Linked DNA regions of Homo sapiens: region 2 is linked to region 1. Evidence: promoter capture Hi-C in 16 types of primary human blood cells and fetal thymus (Javierre and others, 2016). All regions are on one chromosome and are shown on one strand. Each heading gives the region's core, a stretch centred on a gene start or on the middle of the fragment in contact. The rest is flanking DNA. Distances are from core to core; before and after follow the strand shown. Region 1 holds the start of HSPA4L (heat shock protein family A (Hsp70) member 4 like). Region 2 holds the start of C4orf33 (chromosome 4 open reading frame 33).

Evidence for each region. Contacts are between HindIII fragments. The CHiCAGO score rates a contact against its expected background, and 5 or more counts as called.
Region 2: a fragment that was not itself captured here is called in contact with the fragment with the promoter of HSPA4L in region 1 in 2 of 17 cell types (erythroblasts and fetal thymus); the score reaches 7.6 in erythroblasts.

The regions. Positions count from the first base shown.
Region 1 is chr4:127,779,943-127,784,757 of GRCh38, reverse strand. It overlaps HSPA4L (heat shock protein family A (Hsp70) member 4 like), which reads right to left and starts at 2,436. Exons shown (of 19, transcript NM_014278.4): 1 at 2,101-2,436. The coding sequence starts at 2,207. RefSeq lists enhancers at 35-274, 1,686-1,765, 1,374-2,366, 2,266-2,415 and silencers at 2,556-2,625, 2,906-3,075. The HindIII fragment of the contact is 4,318 bases long and covers 1,910-4,815 here.
Region 2 is chr4:129,095,361-129,100,475 of GRCh38, reverse strand. It overlaps C4orf33 (chromosome 4 open reading frame 33), which reads right to left and starts at 4,324. Exons shown (of 6, transcript NM_001099783.2): 1 at 4,267-4,324. The HindIII fragment of the contact is 1,229 bases long and covers 3,047-4,275 here.

The DNA of each region.
Region 1 (4,815 bases), core at 1,187-3,686:
CCTGAGGCCCGGAAGGGCTATGTTTTTCCTCAACAATTGGACCCACAAAGTAATACATAGTGTAAGAGCACTACACTACCATGAAGTACTTTTGTTCAGAAACAACAAAAGATACACTTCTGAGGTAAGTGACAGTGCCCAGCCATGGAGAGAAGAGTTGCTGATGCAAGCTAAGTGAGAATATCCTTTCACTTTTTAAGAACTTTCTAGTTTAGATTAGGCTCATTAAATCTAGATATTACTATTGGCTTTCTAGCACACAAATCAGAAATATCACATTACTTCTCAACCACACAGAACCAGCGAATATGCCTAAGTACAATAACAAAGAGACTTTTAGAAGACTCTAGAAGCCCACTTTTTAAAGAACTAAGTCTGGCCGGCCAGGATCTTTAAAGAATCACAGGTTCACTCACTGCTAAAGAGATTTCTCAGCCTGGAAATGCAGATCGATCTTTCTTACTGTTCTGGTTTCTGATCTTTTAGGATATGGCTTTAAGGACTAAAAGAATGTCCACCCTACCTCTCAGTTTTTTCTCTATAGGTTGAGAGTCAATGAAGCCAAAGATTGCTCCCATTTTTAACCCCTACTCTGCTGAAGGTGGAGAGTGGAATTTCCGGTCTGTTTCTGGCGAAAGCCAGTATTTGTTGTGGCTTAATATAAAACCTTGTAGAGACGAATTCATCGACTTCACAGTTACTGTTTCGGCCTCTCACTGTGCATAAAAGCCAGAAAAAGATGTAAAAAGTAGAAGAGTTCAAACATTATTGAGGATTACCTTATCTATGCCCATGTATTGAAAATATAAACGTCCAAAACGTTTAAAATTTCAATAGAAGAAACGTGTACATCTACGAAAAAAGGTATAAAACCTTCTAGAATCTTCTTGGAAAGAAATCAAAGCACAGACTGCTTCAAGTGAGCTACTCTTCAACATCTTTTTGCCATATTTTAAAGCTTTCCATAGAATAGTAAATGAGGCATTTAAAGACCATTGGACACTGACCTTGTTTTAGTATAGTTAAGGTATTATATTTTGGACCATTCAGAACGGTCAAATTAAGATGCCAAATTACCTTTCCATAAAAAGTAATATAGGTTTCATACAGTTGGTTTCCTCATAAAATTACCAGTAACAGCAGCCTATAAGCAGCAACTAGTTTTTCATATTTCAGAATTACTTCATTATATTCCTTGCCAACAAACTTCCCAGGCCAGAGAAACAACGGAACATGTGGAAACATGTTTCCATGACATAACGCCGCTCCTCCTAAGCCTTTCATTAAGCGTTCATAATAGAATCACTCCACAGTCATGTTTATACGGGACAGCTGCCCCCGACTCCGGCAATTCACTCTGCAGAAACACGCTTTTGGTCCGACCCAACCCCGCCGCATTCCAGCAACTGACGTAGTTACCAATGCACAAGGCCAGTGACTCCCATCCCGAGGCTCTCCCTATCAATGCACCATTGACCTGGCCCTGTAAACCGGCTCCATTACCTGCAGTTCTCAAGGGCACTGGGTTTTGTAAAACCCCACATGCCTCACTCCCCGCCCTTAAAAAAAAAAAAAAGGCTTTCGGGGCCAGATGAACCTGCAATTCATCTCTGACGTGTGCAGCCGAAGCTGACTTTTTACTTTTCTGAGAAAAAGCTGTCACCCAGAGGGACGGGGAAAGGAAGGAGGGCAGCTGGCGCGGGGCCGATAATCCCACGTAAACCTCGTTAGAGGCAACCGGAGATCTTTCTCAATATTCCGGACGCCAGGGGCTGTCCCACAGCAACCTCTTCCTCGCAAGCAAAAGAGGCGTTGGGGGACAGCGGCACGAGGCAGGGGACGTGCGTAGGTACAGAAAAGAGAGCTGCGCAAACTAGTGCGGTCCCTCGTCCTTGAAGGAAAAGAAGCTTTGCGGGGCGAGGAAGTCCGACTGCCACCCGGCGGTCTCTAGGGACTGCGGTTGACGGGTTGCACCTGTCATCTCGGGGTTCGGCGCACGTTAGGGGAAAATCCGAGGAAGCGAGCAGACAGGACAAACGTTAAGGACGGGAGAGAAAAACGTTTCTTAGGGTCGAGGTGATGCTCAGCAGAGGCACTTACGGGGTACACCTGTCGCTGTACTCATTGGCGATGGTCTCGATGCCGCCACTTCTCGCGACAGCAATGTAGCAGTTGAGAAAGCCGAGGTCAATGCCAACCACAGACATCCCGCCGCGTGATGGTCGGGCTGCTGGTACTGAACCCTTCGGTACGGGAACCGTGTCCTCTTCTGGGCTATTGCTGCTGGGATTGCGACTCCTACCAGAAGCAAACGAGAGGGGACCCCAAGTCGCTAAGCAGAAAATCTAGGGCAGGGAGTCGGAAACCCGCGGAAGGAGCAGAGGCCGTCAGCGCCGCAGCCTGCACCGCGTCCCGCAGCCTGGGTCTTTCCCTACTGCGGTTCGGCCGCCTCCAACCGGCGGTTACTGGGACCTGCGCCTGCGCGCTCGGCTGCCCGGGAGGCGCGCGAGCCTCCGCTCCGCGCCCGAGCCAGCTCCGGGCCCGGACTTCGGCCGCTTCCGTCAGCACTCGGGCAACGGCTGCCCAAGAAGCTGCGGGTTCGAGAAAGATCTGGAAAATGGAGGCTGCTGAGCTATCCGGGGGCGGGAGAAGCGGGAAGGCGGGGCGGGGAGGATCGGGGAAAGGAGGCTAGGCACATTGGCTTGCTCGCCCTCGCTCGGCAGTAGGACGTCGGGCGGTCGGGCTAGGTGAGAGGCAGGCGACCGGCCGGCCCGGGGCTTTGCGAACGTGTTTTGAGGCACATTTTTGGGTTGTTTTGGCAACCGGAGGCGTGCTTGTCACGGCGGCAGGATGCTGTCCTGGCTGGCGGGCGCCGCCCCCTCACCCCCTGCCCTCAGAAGGGCTCGCCCGCAGGCCTCGCCTCCCCGAGGGGCCCATGTGCAGCCCGGCGCCCTCCCCTTGTGGCTGGAGGCCCGCCGCGCCCGGCTCTGTGAGGTGGCGCGCATTGTCCGACGTCCGCCGCTCCGCCCTGTCCAGCCCCGGGGGAGCTGCCGAGCCCGGGACAGACTCTTGTGCGAAAGCGGGATGAGCACATGTTAGGTTTTTTTCTTTTTTCATCAGCAGGATTTGAAATATCAAAAGTCAAACTTCTGTCAAGAAATAAGATCACACTGACAACTTTCCCTCCACGTACCTTTCCTCACACCTTTCTAAAAGATGCTGGCCCCGCCGCTGACCCTTGTCTCTGGAAACCAGTTTTACAGGAAAGTGACCTTAATTAAGTGTGCCACTCACACCAGCCAAGTCTGTGCTTTAGCCTCCAGCCGCTGCCCTGTGGTCCTCAAAAAAGAGCCCAGTGTGGTCCAGCGCCCTCCCTCTTGGTTTGATCGGCATGTGTTGCCTGTCTGTAATTAACCAAGTTTTATGTTACACTTAAGAAATTTGGCTGTCTTGTTGCTTTTCGTTCACTTTTACGTGTGTGCCCTGTTCCTTCTCTGCCAGTCCTTGGTCTGTTCCCTGTTCCTCCCCGTCCTCTTCATCTAGTCTCTGTTCCTTCTCATCCAATTCTTTGTGTGTTTTCCTGTTCCATTTTGGTATCCATCTTGAAAACAGGCGTGTTTTTTTGTTTGTTTGTTTTGTTTACTAGATTCTTTAGTATTCTGATTATCCCTAGTTGTCCACTTCTTTAAATAACTTAGATTTTTTACTATTAATAATGTTGCTACAGCAGCAGCAGCAGCAAGGGTGGCTATAGTTCCTGCTGCTGTTAGAATGAACGTGAAATCCATTTTCAAGGGCAATACTGAGGCAACTGGATTGTACAGTATTGCTTGGGCTCTGGTCTCTACATTGAAGAAATCAATCAGGCCTCTCTTCCCTTCATGAGCACTCAGGAGACGTGGAGCCCCTGGGTGAAGCTGCGCTCTGAGACACCGCAGAACTCGGCGTCCCAGCGGGCAGCTCGTGAGCAGAACAGGGATTGGGCGTTGCCCTGCGACTGAACCCTGGGCCCTGGTCCTGCTGGGCGCCTGTGACTTCCACCAGTTCTCCTCACACACCTCTTCTGACATCGGCCATCACTATCTAGATTTATTCCAGAATATCCTGAAATTCTCCTAGTACAATTAATTTATCTTAATTCCATTAGTTTATCCATGTTGTCTATACAACTTGAGGGTGTAAGAATGTTTTTTTTTTTTCCTATTAAAAATACCACTTAAAATATCAAAGTAAAAAGGAAGTTGAGGCCAGGAGCAAAGTGGTGTTATCATCACGTTCCTTACAATTACTGGCAGGACGTGAGAGTACCCAGTGGTTAAAACCATGACGGGCTTTGGGGTCACACAGATTTGGGTTGTAGTACCAGGCTTGCCTAACTTACTACCTGTATAACGTTTGGCAAGTTACTTAATGCTCCAAGCCACAGGTTCAGTCTGTTAAAATGAGGACAAATATGCCTACTGGGCTGTTTTTATGATTAAATAATGTAAGCACTGCATCAGTCCCTGGCACCAAACGGTCAATAAATGCTAGCTATGCTTAGCTGCTGAATGATCCTGATTCATGTACATTGGTCATGTATCCAGCAACCTTGCTGTATTCTAAATTCAAGTATTTGCAGAATTTCTTGGATTTTCTGTGTATAGAACAATATGGCCTGGGAAATAATGAATTTCTTCATTTCTATTTCTTCTGTTTCTTATTGTTTTGCCTGGATTATGTTGCTTAAGTGCTCCAGTAAAATTTTGAAAATAAACAGTAGTGGTAAGCATCCTTGTCTTGTCCCTAACATTAAATACCTTTGTGTTTATGATG
Region 2 (5,115 bases), core at 2,412-4,911, 1.3 Mb before region 1:
GTCAGAGTGTGGTAGACTTTATAGCAGGTGTGTCCAATATTTTGGCTTCCCTGGACCACATTGGAAGAAGAAGAATGTGTGTCTTGGGCCACACATAAAATGCACTAACACTAACAATAGCTGATGAGCCAAAAAAAAAAAAATCAAAATACAATCCATAATGTTTACGAATTTGTGTTGGGCTGCATTCTAAGCTGTCCTGGGCCACATGTAGTCCATGGGCCTTGGGTTGGACAAGCTTGCATAGGTTTCAAATTACTTCAAAATGTAATTTTATCTGGAAGATAAGAAGTAAAAGATAAAAGCAAAGTTACCATTGTTAAGAATTAGGTAGTGAGTACCTCAAACCTTTCTACTGGTTCCTTCTGCTTTTCCCCCCTAAGGTTTCTTTGAGCATTATTTGAAAATTACTGCAAAAAATAGTGACTAGACTTCCACAAGTAGGGAATAGTGCATGGCTGATCAGTCCAAAGACAGAATATAATTTTGGCTTTAATTGCATAAACAACTTTCGTTTCTTATTGCAATGACAAATTTGTTTTTTTTTTTAAACTTTATATCGCTTAAAGAACACTGACGTCAATCTAAGAATGCATAATATTTATAAAAATTAACCTAAAAAGTATAGTCCGTCCTGCCCAGTAGTTAACAGTCTAGTTTAAAACTAACATAAACTAGAGACAGATGATTCTCCCTCTGTAATCTTCTGAGATTTAACCCCCACAACCTTTCAATTTCTTTGTATTTGAACATGTGTTCATTAAGTAAAGACAACTTAATTGTCAATGTCCTTCACCTCTTGGGCTAGCGCTCCCCTCCTGGTCATTCTCTATTAACCTATACACTGCTCTATTTCTATTCTTACATGGCAATTACATGGCATTACATATTTGTTTATTGACTCCCTGAACCCAGCTAGAATGCCTATAAGTGATGGTTACTATTTATTTGTTGAGTGAATAATTTTTCTAGTCCCTGGATCTAACACTCTAGATTTTGTGCAGGAGAAATCTACTGTGTTCGTGGTATCATCATCTCATTTAACACTACATATCAGATCAATACAATGGCTAATAACAAAGATAATAAGCCCAGAAATTCCCTTCAATTTAGTTTATCAAGCATTTATTAAGCACTCATCTTATTTCAGGTACCATACCAGGTGCTGGGGAAATAATATATAATAAGTCTACAGGAGTTTGGGATGGTTCTCATGTAACTAATCAATGAGGTACCCGTTTCCAACATCAGTTGGTTCATTTTGCAGTCCAATTTAATTCAGTGGGATCCTTATACCAAAGTAAGTTTTAGATGAATCAAAGATTTAAACATAAAAATCAAAATCATATAAAAACAGGAAATAAAAAGAGAGTTAAATAAAATCTTATAGTAGTAAGGTAGGAGATGAGCTGGGCTTGTTTTCTGAGCACCAAGGTCCCACTGATTGAAACAGAATCTTATCAAAACAAGATGCAGCAAAGAAACTGGCCACAACCAGCTAAAACCAAGATGGCAACAAAAGTGATCTCTAGTTGCCCTCACTGCTCATTATACATTAATTATAATGCAGTAGCATGCAAAAAAAAACTCCCAACAGTGGCATGACAGTTTACAAATGCCATGGCAACTCCTAGAAGTTACCTTATATGGTTTAAAAAAGGGAGGAACTCTCAGTTCTGGGAACCCTTCCTACTTTTCTGGAAAATGCATGAATAACCCACCCCTTATTTAGCATATAACCAGGGAATTGTATGTATACAGCTGGCCAACAATTCATGGGAGCTGCTGCTCCTACTCTGTCTATGGAGCAGCCATTTTCCTGTAGTTTGTTGCTCTGATAAACTTGCTTTAGCTTGTGAATCCTTTCCTGCATGAAGCCAAGAACTCTCCTGGGCTGAGCCCCAAATCTGGGCTTTCCCTGCATTAGTAGAGAAAACCTTTTAAAATACAAACCAAAACCCAAACATTTTACTACATAAATATAGCAAAACTAACATGGATGCAGCTGGAGGCTATTATTCTAAGCAAATTCATGAAAGTACAGAAAACCAAATACCACATATTTTCACTTATAAGTGGAAATTAAACAGTAGGTACTCATGGACATAAAGATGGCAACAACAGACACTGGGGACTACTAGAGGGGGGAGGGAAGAAAGGGGCAAGGGTTGAAAAACTAACTACTGGGTACTATGCTCACTACCCAGGTGATAGGATCATTCGTACCTCAAATCTCAGCATCATGCAATATAACCATGTGACAAACCCGCACATATATACCCTGGATCTAAAATAAAAGTTGAATTTTTTTAATAATAGATAAATAATAGTAAAAAAGCAAAAACCTCCTTCCCAAGTTCCCTTTACTCCAAAAGCCTATCATTAACAAAATCAAAAGTCTGGGGAAAAGTATATGCAATTCATACTTGATACAAATAACTAATTTCTTTAATGCACAAAGAGCTCCTAGAAATCAATAAGGAAAAGACCAACACTCCAACAGAAAAGTGACCAAAAATTATGAACAGCCAGTTCACGGAGAGAAAATGCAAAATGTTCACTTATAATGACAGAAATGCAAACTAAAACCACAATAAATTACCATTTTTCACTTAGATTGGCAAGGATCAGAAAGTCTGACAACAAGCTGTGTTAATGAAGGCATTGAGAAAAAAATCATTTATTGCTAGTGAGGCATAATTGATATAGCCTCTGTGAAGAGCAATACGTCAATATCTATCAAAATAAAAATGCAACTATCCTTTGACAAAAATAAGTCTAGTTCTAGGAGTTACTATACCTGCACATATTCAAAATGACATAAGCGTTGAGGATATTTGTGGTAGCATTGTTCATAATAACAAAATGTTGGAAGCAACTTAAATACCCATCAGTAGAGGACTGGTAAAAAAAATTATGCTATACCATACAATGAAACACTGTATAACTGCTAAAATGAATGAGGCAGCTCTGAATTAACATCTATGCTAAAATATGTTGTGAAGTGAAAAAAAGCAAGGTGCATTTATTTAATAAAAAGGAAGCTTATTTGCATATATGCTTGTGAGGCATACACTATCTCAGGAAACATCCAAGAAACGAGTGGTAACAGTGGTTGCTTCCCTGAAGGGAATTATCTGCCTGCAGATATGGGAAGGAGGAAGGCTTCCTTTCAACTTCATCACTTTTTAAAAACCTATCTGCATTTTACACTATGACAGACATGCATTACTATTTTAAGGTAACTGAACAGTTTAAAATTATTTTTTGGCCGGGCGCGGTGGCTCACACCTGTAATCCCAGCACTTTGGGAGGCCAAGGCAGGCGGATCACAAGGTCAGGAGATCGAGACCATCCTGGCGAACATGGTGAAACCCCGTCTCTACTAAAAATACAAAAATTAGCTGGGCGTGGTGGCACGCGCCTGTAGTTCCAGCTACTCGGGAGGTTGAGGCAGAAGAATCGCTTGAACCCGGAGGCGGAGGTTGCAGTGAGCAGAGATCGCTCCACTGCACTCCAGCCTGGCAACAGAGCAAGACTCCGTCTCAAAAAAATATATATATTTTAAGTCTAATTTAAGGCCGGTTCTCTTAAAAAGAGTATGGTGGCTGCCTCTTCTCCCCTTTATATTATATATGCTGAACGTTTCCGAAAAGTCATAATGCATATTATCAAGATGATTACTGTCCTGCAATGCAATTTTAAGTTTGGCTGTTTAGACTTTCTTAATACAATATTTATTGTTACTCTGTATGTTTCTACTTTTAACCTCTATTCTTCAAATTGCTCTTAAAACAAGTTAAAAAAATAAATTTTCAATTGTTCTGATTGCTTTATCTTTACCTGGAAAGACCTCTAAAAGGAAACGAAGGAAGAGAAAGGAGACCGAACACTGGAGCATTAAGAACCCAGGAAAAGAAAAAATGTCCGCAAAGTTTAAAAGAAATAAGTTATGGTAAAGGTGTTTTCTCAACCAAATGATCTGCAAGGAAAATTTCCAAATTCCTCTGCTCAACAAAAATTTCTTTAGTTTTTCTACAATAATGATTTCTTTTCAGTTTCCATACCTCCCCGAGGCCCCGCCCATTTATCAGGGAAACGGAGAAATGAGGAAGTCAGCCTGAAAGGGGGAGTACGCTCACTTAGCAGGAGACAGCTGAAAAGTAAAATACTTTTCAGTATTTTCCAGAGATCAAGCGAAAAACAAGACCTGGCGACGACGAAAGGAATGTCAGAGAGAAGAGGGAACAACTAGAGAACACAGACCACGAAGCTTTTCTCAAACACTGGCTTCTTCTTTTCAGCCGAGGTCACAGGAGAGGGCTCGGCTTTAGGCTCCACCCAGCTGCCTACACGTTCTGGGGGAGGGGCTTAGAACACTGAAGCTAAGACGCTTGATTTTTCTAGGAAAGAAAGATGTTGAAGGGCCACACATGAACAACTGAAGACTTCTAATCGTTCCACTAAAGTATGAGTGGTTTCCTAGAAGAAGGAAGGGTGATTCAGAAATATAAATACTGTGCAATAATTTGAAAATCAACTGTAAATCATTAAGATTACAATATAACATGTACAGAAATATTTCATTTAATACAACTAAAGGCTAACTGGCCATATAAGCAAAAACTATAAATTATATTATACCAGCTATAAACTATATTATACTATATTCCTGGGGAGGCATGTTCATAGCAGTTAACAATTGTGAAATTAGAACCATACTGCCTGGGTTCAAATCTCAACTCAGGCACTTGCCAGCTGTGTGATCTGTTCTGATCCTTGCTTAAACTTCTAACTTTGTATTCTTCCTGGTACTTTGCACATAGTACTGGGTGCTCAATGTCAATTGATCAACCAAATGAATGTTAGTGAAATGTCACTAATTTTCAATCTATACAACTTTAGGGGTTTTCTTTATTGCAGAAAAGTCATATAAAAACATTAAATGGTGGCTTGACAAGAGTTACACACAAACTACATACATTTCTGCTTGTCATTCCTTGTATTCAATTTATACTAATAGATACTTTTCATGAACATCCACTGAATTCTTTCATTCCTTCCATCAGATATTTAATCAACTCTGTGTTCCAGGTATTATGATGGAGCCTGGAG